Linked DNA regions of Homo sapiens: regions 1 and 2 are each linked to region 3. Evidence: promoter capture Hi-C in 16 types of primary human blood cells and fetal thymus (Javierre and others, 2016). All regions are on one chromosome and are shown on one strand. Each heading gives the region's core, a stretch centred on a gene start or on the middle of the fragment in contact. The rest is flanking DNA. Distances are from core to core; before and after follow the strand shown.

What was found. Contacts are between HindIII fragments. The CHiCAGO score rates a contact against its expected background, and 5 or more counts as called.
Region 1: a contact is called between a fragment that was not itself captured here and the fragment with the promoter of ABI1 in region 3, in 5 of 17 cell types (fetal thymus, total CD8 T cells, neutrophils and 2 more). The highest score is 7.4, in fetal thymus.
Region 2: a contact is called between a fragment that was not itself captured here and the fragment with the promoter of ABI1 in region 3, in 1 of 17 cell types (total CD4 T cells). The highest score is 5.2, in total CD4 T cells.

What each region holds. Positions count from the first base shown.
Region 1 is chr10:26,336,639-26,339,338 of GRCh38, reverse strand. No RefSeq gene overlaps it. Among named protein-coding and RNA genes, the nearest start is that of APBB1IP, 100 kb to the left of the region's middle. The HindIII fragment of the contact is 266 bases long and covers 1,170-1,435 here.
Region 2 is chr10:26,320,370-26,323,069 of GRCh38, reverse strand. No RefSeq gene overlaps it. Among named protein-coding and RNA genes, the nearest start is that of GAD2, 100 kb to the right of the region's middle. The HindIII fragment of the contact is 3,191 bases long and covers 1-2,700 here.
Region 3 is chr10:26,859,679-26,862,378 of GRCh38, reverse strand. It overlaps ABI1 (abl interactor 1), which reads left to right and starts at 1,421. Exons shown (of 11, transcript NM_001012750.3): 1 at 1,421-1,632. The coding sequence starts at 1,516. RefSeq lists an enhancer at 1,179-1,378 and silencers at 1,699-1,788, 1,899-2,048. The HindIII fragment of the contact is 3,622 bases long and covers 1-2,700 here.

The DNA of each region.
Region 1 (2,700 bases), core at 53-2,552, 520 kb after region 3:
CCCAGTAGTTATTTTTTCTGATTCTCTCCATCCTCCCACCCTCCACGCTCAAGTAGGCCTCAGTGTCTGTTGTTCCCCTCTTTGTGTCCCTGTGTTTGCATCATTTAGCTCCCACTTGTACGTGAGAACATGCAGTATTTGTTTTTTCTTTTCCTACATTAGTTTGCCGAGGATAATCCTCTCTAGCTCCATTCATGTTCCTGCAAATGACATGATCTCGTTCATTTTTATGGCTGCATAGTATTCCACGGTGTTTGTGTACCACATTTTCTTTATCCAGTCTGCCATTGATGGGCATTTAGGTTGATTCCATGTCTTTGCTGTTGTGAATCGTGCTGCAATCAACTTACATGTGCATGTGTCTTTTGGTACAATCATTTATATTCCTTTGGGTATATACCCAGTAATGGGATTGGTGGGTCAAATGGTATTTCCATGTTTAGCTCTGTGAGGGATCGTCATACTGCGTTCCACAATAGTTGAACTGATTTACACTCCCACCAACAGTGTATAAGCATTCCCTTTTCTCTGCAACCTCACTAGCATCTGTTATTTTTTGATTCTTTAGTAATAGTCATTCTGACTGCTGTGATATGATGTCTCATTGTCATTTTGATTTGCATTTCTCTAATAATCAGTGATATTGAGCTTTTTTTCACATGCTTGTTGGCCACATGTATGTATTCTTTGGGAAAGTGTCTGTTTATATCCTTTGCCCACTTTTTAATGGGGTTGTTTGCTTTTTCTTGTATATTTGTTTACGTTTCTAATAGATGCTGACTATTAGACTTTTGTCAGATGTTTTCCAAGTGTTTGATCCTAAGCTAGGAGTAAGTGCTGTGTTTACTTTCATCCTCTGTTATAACAAGTTCTAAAATATATTTTGTAAAGGTAATAGTTACCTATATGTGAGATAAAATGTATGTATTTTAACTCAGGTTTTCAGTTTGTGATCAAGCCTCCTTTAATCTAGAATGATTTTGAAATAGCATAATCTGTATAATATTAATATAGAAATTAAAAAGAAATTATTCAGGCAGATAGTGAGGGTAAGGAAGTCCTCGGTAAGGTTTTCCTTTTAATGAAAAGCAGCCCCCAAATCATTTCTTTTCTAACAAAGAGCAGCCTTAAAAATCGAGCTGCAGACATAGGCAAGCAAACTGGAAGCTTGCGCGGGTGAACGACAGCAGCTTGGCCAACAGGAAAAGGCTACGTGGGGCCAAGTATGTTCAACATGGAGGCTCCATCTTCCCTTTTCTTTGTCAACCATGTGTGCAGTAAAGAAGCCGACATGGTGCTGGCCAGGTAAAGAGTCTATTTGCATAATAAAATATTAGAGTGAGGCAGCCAGCTTCTTCGCATGCTATGTAAACAGCACACCTGGCCCAACCAATCTCTTGAGTCCTATGTAAATAAGACACCACCTCCTCAAGCTTGGCTATAAAACCCCATGCATTTCACCTCAGAACCAGAAGACCCACTCTGGCACCCCTCTGTCTGCAGGAGACAGAACTATTCTATTTTTTTCTTTCTTTTGCCTATTAAATCTCCACTCTTATACTCACTTCTTATGTATTTGTGTCCTCAATTCCCCTGGTGTGAGATGATGAACCTTGGGTATTTACCCCAGACAATGATTCTGCTTCAAGAGTTTCCATAAAGGCAATACTTTTATAAGTATTGACACATTTTATTAAATGCAATATAATGCATCTACCAGTAATGTTTTATTTTGCTCAATATGTGGCTTAAAGACAGTTTTCCATTTTTTAGATCATTCATCAACATTTGAGGATCCAACTGTGTTAATGGTCACCTTTACTAACAGTAATGTACAGCATCAAATAAAATTCCTGTCCCTTATGAGTTTCTGAGTATTGTCTTCTGTGTAAACATTGGTTATTCTTATTTATTTCAATTATTTCAACTTTTATATTCATAAAATATTTATCAGCACCTACCATGTGTCAGGCACAGTGTGGGTACATGAATATAATAGAGCATAATCCCAGGCCTCAAAAAACCCACAGCCTGAGGAGGGAAACAGCCAAATACACAAATAAATTGCTCACATGCTTAGGTGTTTGCAACCATTCAGGCCTAGGCACAGAACAGGCCACACCCTGTACTAGTATACTCTGTGTAGTGCGTTGGGGAGTCCAACATAGTTGGAGAGGCTGGAAGAGGAAGTGGTGGGTGACTTGGGGCTTGGAAAGGAGAAATTGTCAAGAGCTTAGGTTGGAGAGATAAGAAAGAACTGGATCATAAAGGGTTTGTATGTCATGCTCGGGAATTTGGACTTAGTTTTGCAGATGTAAAAAGTTTTAAGGAGGGCAGTTATAGGACACTTTGGTGAGAGAGTGGGAGATGGTGTGAAAGGTGGAATGTTGGACCAGGAGATTAGCTCTTTGAAAGTATCATTATTCAGCCAGGTGCGGTGGCTCACACCTGTAATCCCAGCATTTTGGGAGGCCGAGGCGGGTTCATCACCTGAGGTCAGGAGTTCGAGACTGGCCTGGCCAACATGGTGAAACTCCATCTCTACTAAAAATACAAATAAAGAGATAAAAAAAACTAGCAGGGTGTGGTTGCGTGCACCTATAATCCCAGCTACTCGGTGGAATCGCTAGAACCAGGGAGGCGGAGATTGTGGTGAGCTGAGATGGCACCACTACACTCCAGCCTGGGCTCTGTCTTAAA
Region 2 (2,700 bases), core at 67-2,566, 540 kb after region 3:
AGTTAGTTCTTGCAGTCATTATACGAAAAAGATACTTGCACACACATGTTTCTAGCAGCACAATTCACAATTGCAAAAATGTAGAACCAGCCCAAATGCCCATCAGTCAACTAGTGGTAAAGAAACTGTGATATATATATATATATGCACACACACACACACACACACACACACACACACACACACACACACACACAATGGAATGCTACTCAGCCATAAAAAGGAATGAATTAATGGCATTCACAGCAACCTGGATGGAATTAGAGACTATCATTCTAAGTGAAGTAACTCAGGAATGGAAAACCAATCATCATGTGTTCTCACTCATAAGCAGGGGCTAAGCTATGAGGATGCAAAGGCATAAGAATGATACAATGGGCTGTGGGAACTCAGGAAGAAATGGTGGGAAGGGTGTAAGGGTTAAAAGTCTACAAATCAGGTTCAGTGTACACTGCTCGGGGGATGGGTGCACCAAAATCTCACAAATCACCACTAAAGGACTTAATCATGTAACCAAATACCACCTGTTCCCCAAAAACCTATGAAAATAAAAAATAAAAAACAAAATACCTTACAGTTAGTTCTTGGAAGTAATCTAGTTACTGAAAGGCAGGATATTATCCCTGTTAATTGCCTTGAAATAATGATGACTGTGATCTTATTGAGTTTTATAGGTGAGAAGACAATTATTTTCCAATTTTTAATGTCTCTATATGTCTGATGGTGGGTGGAGAGAATGGAAGAATTTGTGGGGAGTAAATGTCTTGTCAATAGAGTGACTAAACCCTTTCACTGCATGTTTAGTAGATGCCTATTAACAAGACATTGGCTTCTTCCTTAGGGACTAATTACTCTCGTTCTCTTCATCTCCTTGTGTGTCCTCATCACAAGAAGCCCCAGACTCCCAGACCACCCCTCACCACACAGACTCTTACTCCCATAAGGCTTTGTGCACACTCCAGCCCCATCCATCTTCTACTCCTGAAGCCTTTCCACTGGGCAGTCTTCACCTAAATTCCCCACATCCCCAGTGTCTTTTCTGAAAATGCACTTCTTCTTGCATTAATTCAAACCTGGCTTTTCCTCGGCACTCTGCTTCTCTGAAATCTATGCAGCTGGTTGCTGGCTAGTTTTCACTCTCACAGACCTGGAACCAGCAGGTTTGAAAGTAGGGTTACTCTCCTGGGCCCCTTCTGTTTCTAATTCCATCCTCCTCCTCTCCAATTCCCTGCAGACCCCTGTCTTTGAATCTCATGCCATTGGACCATGCAACCCACTGCCCTTCCTTTCTGCAGGCATCTATAGGCACTTTCAGATACTTACTCACTTTTCGTCGATTGTAACATCTGATTCATTGTCATCCCAACGCAACTCCTGCTTTATTCTTGGTGATTTCAATAGCCACACGACTGGTTCTTCAGAAACCTACACTGAGGTTGTAGCTATGTGAGGTATCAGCCTTATGGGGGAAGAGTCTCTGTTCAGCAGGCATGGAGCTTGGTCTCCTTTCTCCCAGGAAGCCATGAAACCAAAGCTCAGATCCACAAAGTTTGGCAAATAAACTCAAGGTGAAAACTGGCTTAGTGCTAGGCTTATTTCTCTGGATTTCTGCCTTCATGAAGCTCCTAACCTGGAGTATTTTTTATTTATTGCCAGATCATTGATGTTTTTAAGAATATGTTTAAATATATTATCTAACAATTTTAGCTGGTTTCAACCAAAAGGAAGGTAAGGGAATCTAGTCCACAATATTACCAAAAAGGTTTCATTATATCTGTGATGATTTTTTAAAAACTGGCAAAATGTTTTATCATTTCATAACATGGGTTTACATCGATGATACAAACATTTTTCAAAAGACTTTTTTTTTTTTTTTTTTTGAGACAGAGTTTCGCTCTTGTTGCCCAGGCTAGAGTGCAATGGCACGATCTCGGCTCACTGCAACCTCTGCCTCCTGGGTTCAAGCGGTTCTCCTACCTCAGCCTCCTGAGTAGCTGAGATTACAGGCATGTGCCACAATGCCCGGCTAATTTTTTGTATTTTCAGTGGAGACAGGGTTTCTCCATGTTGGTCAGGATGGTCTCGAACTCCTGACCTCAGATGATCCACCTGCCTTGGCCTCCCAGAGTGCTGGGATTATAGGCGTGAGCCACTGCACCTGGCCCAGAGGCCTTTTTTGGCAGGAGGGCTTGCTATGTTGCCCATGCTGGCCTTGAACTCCTGGGCTCAAGCAGTCTCCTGTGTCAGCCTCCTGAGTCGTTGGGACTACAGTCATGTGTCACTCAAAGATCTTTTTTTTTTTTTTTAATTACAGATTAAAAAAATTTTTCAATAGCTTTTGGGATACAAGTAGTTTTGGGTTACATAGATGAATTATAAAGTGGTGAGATTTTAGTGCACACATCACCAGGGTAGTATATATTGTACCCTGTATGTAGTTTTTTATCCCATACCCCCATCCCATTCTCTGTGATGATTTTTTTTTAACCTCCTGTTTTTTTCTGTTGTATTTTCTTGGACCTCTTGGCTTGATTGTATAATTTTCTCTAATTTTCTCTTGCATTTTCCATCTTATTGTCTATTTTTTCCTACTTTTAGAGATTTCCTCAACTTTTTATTTTTATCTATTGCTTTATTTTTAAATTTCAGCAACCATAATTATTTCCATATTAGTTTTTGTATCTTATAAACGAAATATAG
Region 3 (2,700 bases), core at 172-2,671:
TCCTTTCAGAGGTCGAAGAGGGAAACTGGTTCCCTGGGGCCCTGAATAAGGCCCCAGTAAAGGCAATATTCAATAAATACCTGGTGCTGGCAATTTTTAATTTGGTTGAGTGATGTTTTTACTCCTAGTTATTTTGATTCTAAATGACTTTATGGAGATACATGAACATATGTCCAAAGTCTTTGGACAACACTTTTCATAGCTGATTATATCCGAAGCATTTAATGTTCCTGTTGAAGTGAAGAGCTTGAAATATAGGGCCTTTTGAGACTATTCCAAAGCAGGTGATAAAAACAAAACAAAACAAAAATCCAGGAGCAAAAAACGAAGGATCAGGGTGGGTGGCTCATGATTGTAATCCTAGCAGTTTGGGAGGTTGAGGCAGAAGGATTGCTTGAGGCCAGGGGTTCGAGACGAGCGAGGGCAACATAATTTGATCCCTGTCGCTATAAAAAATTAAAAAGCTCAGCCAGGTGTAGTGACCGACGCTTGTAGTCCCAGTTACTCTGGAGGCTGAGGCAGGAGGATCGCTTGACTTTAGGAGGTCTAGGCTGCAGAGACCCATGATTGTGCCCCTGTACTCCAGGCTGGGTAACAGTGAGATCCTGTCTCAAACAAGCAAACAACTCCCACCCCTAAAAAAACGTGCACATGACCTTAAAAGTGTAGGAAGATTACATGATAAGGAGAGTCAGAGAAAAGAGAAATTAGGACAGGAAAGCACTACAAGCTATGTATGTTTATTTTATAATTGAGTCTTTAAGGGTACGGAGTATTCGTACTCAACTTGTACCCCCAGTGTCTAGTACGCTGCTTGGTAAACAGCTGGCAATCAAGAAATGTTTGCTAAATTTTAAATGAATTGATGGGGGCGGAACTTCAGAAAGTAAAGCCTGACTCGCTTTATTTCTAAGAAGGCAGAGGAAGTAAAAATCTAGTTTTCCGTACTCTGTCCCCTTTTTAATCCTTCTCTGAATGGGTGTCCTTGATTCACTGACATTTCCTAATTAACCAAGTTCTGCCAAGTTTCACATGAAACTTGGGGAACCGATTTCATTCCCCCAGTATCACCCTGTGGCGCCACCTTCCGGAGCTGTGAGGAAACTCCGGACTTCCCCCCAACACCGCCCCCTCCCTCCACCCTCGGTCTCCGCTTTCTGCGCTCTGCCGCGTTGGTTTTCGGAGGTGTCTGGGCGCATGCGCTTTGGACGGGCCGCCTAGCCTAGGAGAGACTACAATTCCCAGAAGACAGTGCGAAAGAAAAAAAAAATCCCGCGGTCCGTGGGGGTGGGAGAAATAAACGCTCGCGAGAGAACGAGGTTCAGGCGGCTGCACGAAGGGGGTGGAGGGGGGCTGGAGAGAGTGAGGAGGAAGGGGAGGAGGTGCCGTCCCACAATACCAGGCGGGAGGGCGGGTAGGCGGTTTGTATCCGGGCTGTGAGGTGCTCGGAGCCTCGGCGGACCTTGCTGCCTCTGTCTCTTTAACGCGAGAGGAAGCGATGCAGAGGGGTGGAAAATGGCAGAGCTGCAGATGTTACTAGAGGAGGAGATCCCGTCTGGCAAGAGGGCGCTGATCGAGAGTTACCAGAACCTGACTCGGGTGGCAGACTACTGTGAAAACAACTACATACAGGTGAGGCGCTCTGGCGGCCGGCGGGCGCTGGCCGGGTCGAGGACCCGCCGGAGTGACCAGCCCACTGGGCGGGGTGGGGAACTGCCCTGACCTCAGCGGCTGCCACCAACCCGAGCCCCTACCGCAGCCCCAACCCCAGCCCCAACCGGGGACAGAGCGAGTGGCCGGGCTGAGGGAGTCGGGCTGCGATACAGGAAGTGGCTGTGGTGGTGGAAACCGATAGAAGGGGAGAGAGAAAATGGGCGAGGGAGCCGGGAGCCCGCCGCTGCCGCAGCCCGGCGCCCCCCTCGCGTCCGCTTCCCCCAGGGCCCGGCCACCGGGGTCGCGCGCCCCCCAGGTAGCCTCCAGTCCGCAGGGCTGGAGTCCCGGAATACCCCCGAGCTGCCGCCGCGCCGCCTCTCTGCGCCGGGAGAGGAGGTCCAGGACGGGAGAGGGGAGAGGAGAGGGCAGGGACGAGGCTGAAGCCGCAGAAGGGAGAGGACCAGCGGGGTGTGTGTTGTGTGTCGGCGGAGGGTGGGGTGGGGGCGATTATGTCAGTTTCAGCCCCCAGAGGGTGTGTCTTTTATTTATTTATTTATTTAAAAAAAATTTGTCATGAGTCACATTACACCGACCTCCCGGAGGAGAGGAGGAAGCGGGTGTGGGGAGTGAGGGAGGGCGTTTGAGAGAAGTTCATCTTAAAATTCCTTTAATTGAAGGTTTGTAAATCTGTCTGCTTGTCCATTTTCAAGTCGGGTTTTTTTTATTTTTTTCCCCCTCTCATCGTTTTCACTTCCGCCCCACCATAATGTATTCTAAGAGGTTGTTAGGGCTGCTATCATTAATTATCAAACACGAATTGTTCTTAACTCCTTGGAAAAACGGCTTACCCTCCCTTCTCCCAAAAGTTCTTGAGCTGTAGGCTTCATAAGTAACTTAAAATAGACTGGTGTCATCGCCGGTTGCTTATTTTCTGAGGTTTCTCTCTTAACAAGCTAAGTAAATGTATAGTATGTGAATCCAAATACAGAAACGAACAGAGGTAGCCTCTGAACTACAACGTAAAAATATCTGTTATTGTAAATTAGA